Regions from separate parts of the Homo sapiens genome. Here region 1 is linked to region 2. The links are contacts of gene promoters, found by promoter capture Hi-C in blood cells and fetal thymus (Javierre and others, 2016). All regions are on one chromosome and are shown on one strand. Each heading gives the region's core, a stretch centred on a gene start or on the middle of the fragment in contact. The rest is flanking DNA. Distances are from core to core; before and after follow the strand shown.

Evidence for each region. The method cuts DNA at HindIII sites, captures the fragments that hold promoters and counts their contacts. A CHiCAGO score of 5 or more calls a contact.
Region 1: a contact is called between a fragment that was not itself captured here and the fragment with the promoter of DNAI7 in region 2, in 1 of 17 cell types (fetal thymus). The highest score is 5.3, in fetal thymus.

Annotation. Positions count from the first base shown.
Region 1 is chr12:26,838,268-26,842,378 of GRCh38, reverse strand. No RefSeq gene overlaps it. Among named protein-coding and RNA genes, the nearest start is that of ITPR2, 7.1 kb to the right of the region's middle. The HindIII fragment of the contact is 1,419 bases long and covers 1,129-2,547 here.
Region 2 is chr12:25,193,465-25,197,481 of GRCh38, reverse strand. DNAI7 (dynein axonemal intermediate chain 7) reads left to right here and starts at 2,322. Exons shown (of 16, transcript NM_018272.5): 1 at 2,322-2,406. The coding sequence starts at 2,404. It overlaps ETFRF1 (electron transfer flavoprotein regulatory factor 1), which reads right to left and starts at 2,245. Exons shown (of 3, transcript NM_001001660.3): 1 at 2,145-2,245. RefSeq lists an enhancer at 1,885-2,004. The HindIII fragment of the contact is 2,518 bases long and covers 161-2,678 here.

The sequences.
Region 1 (4,111 bases), core at 589-3,088, 1.6 Mb before region 2:
CATCCCAGGTCTATGCAATACTTGTGTCCTTAACTATTGTGGCATACAGGTATGGGATTCATTTAAGTGCCTGATAAATGCTTTCTGACATCTACATGGGAACATTAAATTGTATTTGGGGAAGAATCACTGCAAATTGAAGTAGGCAAGATTTTAGATATGCATACTTTTTTTTGAGACAGGGTCTTACTCTGCCGTCCAGTCTGGAGCACAGAGGCGTGATTTTGGCTCACTGCAATCTCTGTCTCCCGGGTTCACGCCTCAGCCTCCTGAGTAGCTGGGACTATAGGCATGCACCACCACGCCTGGCTAATTTTTGTATTTTTGGTGGAGATGGGGTTTCGCCATGCAGCCCAGGTTGGTCTCCTGGGCTCAAGCAATCCGCCTACTTTGGCCTCCCAGAGAACTGGAATTACAGGTGTGAACCACAGTGACTGGCTCATTTTTTTCTTAAAACTCCCCATTCTTTTCTGTTATAGAGACTGGGCCATTTTCTCTTTTCTTCAATATTTTGATGATTCTCAGCTCTAATTGATCATGGTTCTTAGAACCAAATGGTATCAGTTGTATCAGTTCTTCATAAAATACTTCTAATTACAACACCTCTCCTCTTTTTCATTTCCAAGCCCTTACAGAATTATGACATTAGGGTCAGATCAAGCCATAAGCGATTCAGCAGCAAGTAGTGTAAATACTTCTAAGAACTGTGACCCTCAAATAATATATATATATAATATTCACCATATGATTATGGTGAATATATATAATATTCAGAAGAATATTTTAATGGGATGTGAAGTTGGGAGTTTCAGTGGAGGCATCGAAATACCATCAGTAAGACCAAGATGCAAATTTTGAAAGGAAATATTTGACCACAAGGGATACAATGCTTAAAAATCTTTCTCCCAGACCAAGGATATGAAACAGTTGGGCTGTTGGAGATGTGAGTGTTTTGGAATGAGCTACTGCTCTGTTGCGTCTCACGCCGTACATACCCAGTGCAGGAGAGAAGAACGTGTGCATGCATGTGTGTGTGCGTGTGTGTGTGTGTCAGTCATGGGGAGGGAAGTCTTTGACTCTCAGATCTAATCTAGTGAGAAGAACTTCAAAGGCACCACATGGAAAGCTTATATTTGTCTCCTGCAGGTAGGGAAACACAGTAGATTGATGTCAAACTCTGGCTTTGGAAACAGAGAGGTTAAGGGTCAAAAGATGTGATAGACAATATTTTTGAGATGAATGTCAGACTTTTTGTTGCCTGGAGATTGGCCTGCATTTCCAGAGTTTTCCCAGGCTAAGATTGTTTCTTCTGGGCCACATCTTCAAAACAGATCTGGTTTGGGATTATTCTTAAATTCCTGTCCACTAGACAACACTCTGAGAGTGATCAAAACTGACACTGTCAACAAAGAGCAGATATAGCTATACATCGTGTGCCTAAGGTTAGGGTGCCCTGGGAAGAACACAAAATCACTTTTGTAGTATTCTGGCTAGAAATGCTTCATCAAATCTAAGTGTGAAATACAAGACAAATCCAATTATGGAACAGCCTATAAGTAAATGACTTGTATTCTTTTTTCTGTTTTTTTTTTCTGTTTTTTTTTTTTTTTTTTGAGACAGAGTCTTGCACTGTCATCCAGGCTGAGTGCAGTGGCGCGATCTCAGCTCACTGCAACCTCCACCTCCTGGGTTCAAGCAATTCTCCTGCCTCAGTCTCTTCAGTAGCTGGGACTACAGGTGCCTGCCACCACGCCCAGCTAATTTTTGTATTTTTAGTAGAGACGGGGATTCACCATGTTGGCCAGGATGATCTCAAACTCCTGACCTCCAGTGACCTGCCCGCCTCGACTTCCCAAAGTGCTGGGATTACAGGCGTGAGTCACTGTGCCTGGCCAGATGGCTTGTATTCTTAAAAAATGTCAATGTCACTGAAGCCAAAGTGTGGCTAAGGAATTGTTATAGATTAAAAGAGACAAAAAAAACATGAAAACTGAATGCTATATGTAATTCTAAATAGGATTCTGTCCTGGAAGAAAAAAATGATGTAAAAGACACTATTGAGACAGTGGTATATCAGAGTTAAATTTCCTGAACTCGATGGTTGTTCTGTGGCTATATCTTTGTTCTTAGGTATACATGAAGTATTAAAAGGCAATAGGGCATGATGTATGCAACCTACACTCAAATGGTTCTGAAAATAAATTGCATGCGTACGTGTGTAAAGGCAGTGATAAAACAAATGTGGCAAATTATAAAAATTACTGAATTTAGGTCACAGGTATTCTTATAACTTTTCTGTAAATTGGAGATTATTTCTGTAAGTTTGAGGTTATTTCAAAATAAAAATTAAAAACAGATCATTTTCTGAGCCACTAGCCAAGGTTTGTTTCAACCTCTTCTCCCCAACCCCTACCGACATACAATCACCCCCTTCAGGAATGTTAGTAAGTCCCCACCAAGACAAGCTAAATCAGAATCTCAGGAGCTAAGGCCCAAGGATTTGTGTTTTAACAAGTTCTCCAGGCGGTTCTTATGTGTACTAAAGCTTGAGAAACACTGGTTTAGCCTAGTTAAGAACCATGCTTGGAGTTGGGGGTGGGGTTAACCCCATTGGGCTGTTACACTATGGGGGAAAGGTGGCTGGGGATAGGGGAAATGGCCACAGGATCTGTCTCACATGACTGTTAAGATGATAGTGGCTGAGATGGTTACATTCTCCCCTATCCCGCCCACCTTTTTCCTTTTAGCTTTGACCCAGAGGCCTTAAGGACACATTTTTAGTCCAACATTTCACAACAGGAGGTATACGTGACTAATGTATATTTATTAGAGAGCAAATTCACAAAACTCTCCACACTGAATACAAATTGATTATGGTGAATTAGCAGAGTTGTTCATTTTTGGCCTAGTGAGGAGTAGCAGAGATTTTTCCTTGGGCATGGTGGGCTGCAGGTCCCAAGCCCTGCCCCACAGGGAGGCAGCTGAGGCCCGGTGAGAATTCGAGCACAGAGCTGGCAGGCTGGCACTGCTGGGGGACCCGGCGCACCCTCCGCAGCTGCTGGCCCAGGTGCTAAGACCCTCATTGCCCGGGGCCGGAGCTGGCCGGCTGCTCCGGGTGCGGGTCCGCCCAGCCCATGCCCACTCGGAACTCGAGCTGGCCCACAAGTGCACTGCAGCCGCGGTTGCCGCCCGCGCCTCTCCCTCCACACCCCACAGCAAGCAGAGGGAGCTGGCTCCGGCCTCGGCCAGCCCAGAGAGGGGCTCCCACAGTGCAGCGGCTGGCTGAAGGGCTCCTCAAGCGCAGCCAGAGTGGGCGCTGAGAGCGAGCTAGGGCTGCCAGCACACTGTCACCTCTCACCTACAAGAGCCTGGCCTTGGATGTTCTAATTGGAAGTGATTTGGTATGTCAGATTTGTTGATCTGTCTGAGTAGGGAAAAAGGAATTGGAGATTGATAGAAACATTGATGGAATGAGGGGGATCAGTGGAGCCGTTTACATGCCCAGTCTTTGGCATGGTAAGGATGCCTGTATCCAGAACTACCTACATAAATTTTCATGGCTCAGTGAAAAATAAAATTGTGGGGCCTCTTGTTAAAAAATAATCAAGAATTTCAGGATAGCACCAACAAAACATCAAACCAATCATGGGGCCCTGTGCTATTGCACAGGTTGCAACACCATGAAGCAGACCCTGCCTAAATCTCATGTGGTCAAAAGGAGGCCAGACTTGCTAGAACCCACCCAAGAGGTTTGTTGGCCTGTGGATAATAGTGTCAGGGGTGGAGCTGAAGGGGTTGGGAAGAAGTCAGGCTGGGGCAAGCTCTCCCACTTCGAAGAACTGTGCACTGCGAGGTCTTTCAGAGCTTTTAAAATCTTCATCCACATGCCCAGCATAGAACTGCTATTTGACAACCACCTGACAAGAAGGCCTCTGCAACCAGTCAGAGTTTACTAGATGAGCAGTGGAGTCGTGAGGACTGAAATTGCAAACCCAGGTCAGAATGATATGTTTGCTCATTTCATCCTGATCCTGCATTCCCTTCCCAACACCCAAGAAGCTAAAATGTGAAGATGTAAGGGAAGGAGTAAAAGAGAAGACCACATCCCTCC
Region 2 (4,017 bases), core at 1,073-3,572:
CAAAACAAAACAAACAAAAAACACCTCTTCGGAACCATGTTCTTTTCACATAATTTAAAATTAAATATACATAGATGTAATTTCGAATTGCAAACTATAACCTGTTTAATGCCTAACAGCACAGCTTCATTTAATTCACAATTTGTAACTTGTGAAAGCTTTCAGGGACCTGGCTTAAGTTGTCCTTTTTAGTTGTTGGTCTTTTTACAAATTATGTATCATAAAACACTTGCCCAGCAAAAATGTAACTAGTGTGGCTATGGCAAATTTGTTCTTCTTTGATATGTTAACTTATATGAATTAATGCAGTTTATCTTTTTTTTTTTTTGAGACGGAGTCTTGCTCTGTTGACCCGGCTGGAGTGTAGTGGTGCGATCTTGGCTCACTGCAACCTCCCTCTCCCGGGTTCAAGCGATTCCCGTCTCAGCCTCCAGAGCAGCTGGGATTACAGGTGCTGATCACCACGCCCGGCTAATTTTTTGTATTATTTTAGTAGAGACGGGGTTTCACTGTGTTATCCAGGATGGTCTCCATCTCCAGACCTCGTGATCCACCCACTTTGGCCTCTCAAAATGCTGGGATTACAGGCGTGAGCCACCACACCAGGCAATGCAGTTTATCTTTATGCAGTTGACCTTGAAGCATTTAGGTTTACTTTAGCCACTAAGAGAAATAGGTCTCCTTGGGTTCACAATGTAGTGAATAAACAATTTTGAGTTCAGCAGGGCCCTGAGGCTGCTCCTGAACTCTGCATGAAGTCATGGAGGTTACTGTTTTAAGTAAAGAGCCAAGAGTTAAGGACTAAGAGAAGCCCCCTATTATTCTGAAAACTTGGATGTGTGCGCTGGATGAGACAGCGGTTGCAGTCCCCATTGATAGTTTTTTCCCCCTGTCATTCTAGGCTAAGGAGTTAGGACTTAACCAGTTCCAGTTCCAGGCTAATGGAAAATTGTCATTTTACTGGGGGTTATGTGGTGGCCAAAGTTGTTAATCATTGTTCCCCATGGGGTAGATACAGTGAGAGCTTCAGTAAAGCCTTTCCTCTAAAAGCCCACTATTTTAAGGTAACTTGGGATTACTGAACTATCTCCTTACCCCGATGAATCCTAACTTGAGTTGACTGAGGTGTTTTATCATTAAACATTAGTTTTACTGAAACTAATTTAAAAGGAAGCCTTAACTTTCATATCAAACAGCTATGGTAAACTGAGTAAGAACTCTGTACGAAGTCGCTATTAAAATGTTTTTATCTTGCTACCAGGATATGGATGTAAAATGCTAATAACTATTACACAACCTATAATAGTTACAGGTTACAATAGGGATAATAACACTTTAACCCACAAAGACTAGCTTAGTCCTACTACTTATCTATGAATAATGCATGTAGTCAATAACACTGGAAGGGATAGAGCATTATAAACTTATAATTCAGAGATGAGAAATGGTGCCAGTAATTTAAAAGTATTTCAGGTCTCATAATGCTAAAACAGGGTGTAGGTATGCCCTACAATTACAGAGAACTCAGTCGGGCTTGAGGAGAACAGCCTCACTTAATTGTAGTTTTCCTGTCGGTGTAAGGTGCCGGCGTTTCTTCATGTGGGAGGAGACTGAAATTCTAAAGGTTGTGTGGTTAGTAAAATTAGTCTGTGACCTCGGGAAACTAATGAGTCTTTGGGGCCTCAGCGATCTTCATGTTAAGGAATATTTTAGCCAGGAATTGCTTCATTTTCAATTCTTGTTTAGGGCGCTCTTAGGAAAAAGGACGCGTACGCTGCACAGAAAGTAAACAATAGAGCAGAAAGAAGAATCCGAAGGTCATTAATCTTAAAATAACCAACCCTCTGGAGCCAACTTATTTCTCTCTTTAAATTGCGGAATGAGCCCCATCCCCCTGCTGGATTAAACCGCAGAGGCCCAGGCCTCCCACCGGGTGTCCGCTGCATGAACCAGTCGCATGCCTGTTTCCTTCTCGAAACCCTCACAGAAAGACCCAACACACTCTAGGAAATAAACCGTCAACGTCAGGAGACGCTCAGAACCCTCTTCCCACACCCGGTGGTCCTCGCCCAGAGCATATTTCGCCTCCAGACCCCAGGATCCGGGAAATGGAACAAAACTCCCCGGCGGCGGCACTCACGCACTTTCCGGCACGCCGGAGCCGCAAAAGCCTCGACCGCTACGACTCCTCTGTCCGTCTACTGCGAAGCGGGGTGGCGTTGGGGGAGGTGGGCAACCTGTCAGTAAAGGGGGCGGGGCGCCGGCCGGAAGAGCCTCCGCGCGGCTGCGCTCTTTTCCTGGAGCTCAAGTGGGCGGGGCCTGTCGTCCGGGCAACCCGGGAGCGTTTGTCCACACAATTTCTGCTCCGACTCTGCGGACTACTGCAGTGGAGCTTGACTCTTAATGGTGAGCAAGGCAAATGAGGCAGACAGGTGGAGGGGCGACCACTGATTCTGCTTCACCAGTGTTAAATAATGTAATCAAGAGCCAGTCATATTTTACAGCGAAGCGGGTCGGTTTGGGAAATAACTCATACCTTGGGGTGGGTCGGCCCTCTTCTCAGCAATGGCTTTCCTTACCTGGACCAGGCGGACAGGTAGGAGTCCCAAACCAGTTTCTGCAAACGGGAGATGGTCAAAGCTGTCACACGGTATCCTGATCTCGAATGTTGCTAAGCTTGAAAATTGGTCCCAACCTAGTAACTTTCAGTAGTGATAGACGTTCCCACTAAATTTTCTTATTGCAACTTGGCGGAAATGTTTTAGTACTTCTCCAGCAGTTAATTAAAAGCTAATGCAATTTACTCTGCTTTGAAAAAATATTTTATGTCGTCTTTTGTGGGAATATGAATTGTTTTGTGATTCAAGGTTCTCATCCTGCATTAGTTAAATATGATAAGGCTTCTCATTTTGTTTTTCTGCACTCCTCAACTGCCATGTTTTCAGCAAGGAGACAGGCCAACATGTAGCTATGAGAGTATCTCTGATTTTCTTAAATGTGGTTTCCATCAAGACATTTTCTATAATTAAAACCAGAGGAAGTGGAGAATGTAATTACTTATTTAATTCATTAATTAAGGGAAAAATGTGGAGTGCATTCTTTGTACTTGGCACTGGGCTAGAAGCCAAGAATACCAAGAAGAACATGACGACAACTCTGCTTATAGGATACAGATTAAACAAATTAATTACAATACAGCTTTACAACTGTAACAATTGAAGCATCTAAAATGGGGTAACACACAGTTGGAAATGATGAAATTTCAGTGAGGGGAAACAAGGGAAGGAGAGTGGTGCTTTTCAACCTGTTTTAAAGTATAAATACGAGTTTTCCACATATGGTGGGAAGAAATAGGGAGTGGAGGCCTGGCGCGGTGGCTCACCCCTGTAATCCCAGCACTTTGGGAGGCCGAGGCGGGCAGATCACGATGTCAGGAGTTCGAGACCAGCCTGGTCAACATGGTGAAACCCAGTCTCTACTAAAAATACAAAAATTAGCCGGGCGTGTTGGCGCGCACCTGTAATTCCAGCTACTCAGGGGGCTGAAGCAAGAGAATCGCTTGAACCTGGGAGGCGGAGGTTGCAGTGAGCCGAGATTGTGCCACTGCACTCCAGCCTGGGTGACAGAGCGAGACTCCGTCTCAAAAAAAAAAGAGAAAAAAAGAAATAGGGAGTGGAGAGCATTCCTGGCGGAATGCAAATGGACCTTAAGTCAATTTATAATTGCTAATAAATTGGGGGAACAGTAAGCACTTACTTGTTACCTTCCAATTTGTTACCTGAGTTTCTTCTTCTTCTTAGATCCTTCTCCCAATGTTTCTCAAAGTGTGGCCCATGGAACATTTATTTCTAATGCACCCGGAGTACTTGTTAAAAATGCAGATTCCAGGAACCCACTCAACTCCAAATCTACTGTATTAGTTTCCTAAGTCTGCCAAGTAAGGAATTGCCACAAACTGAGTGGTTAAAGAAAAGAAATTTATTGTCTCGTAGTTCTGGAGACTAGAAGTCCAAGATC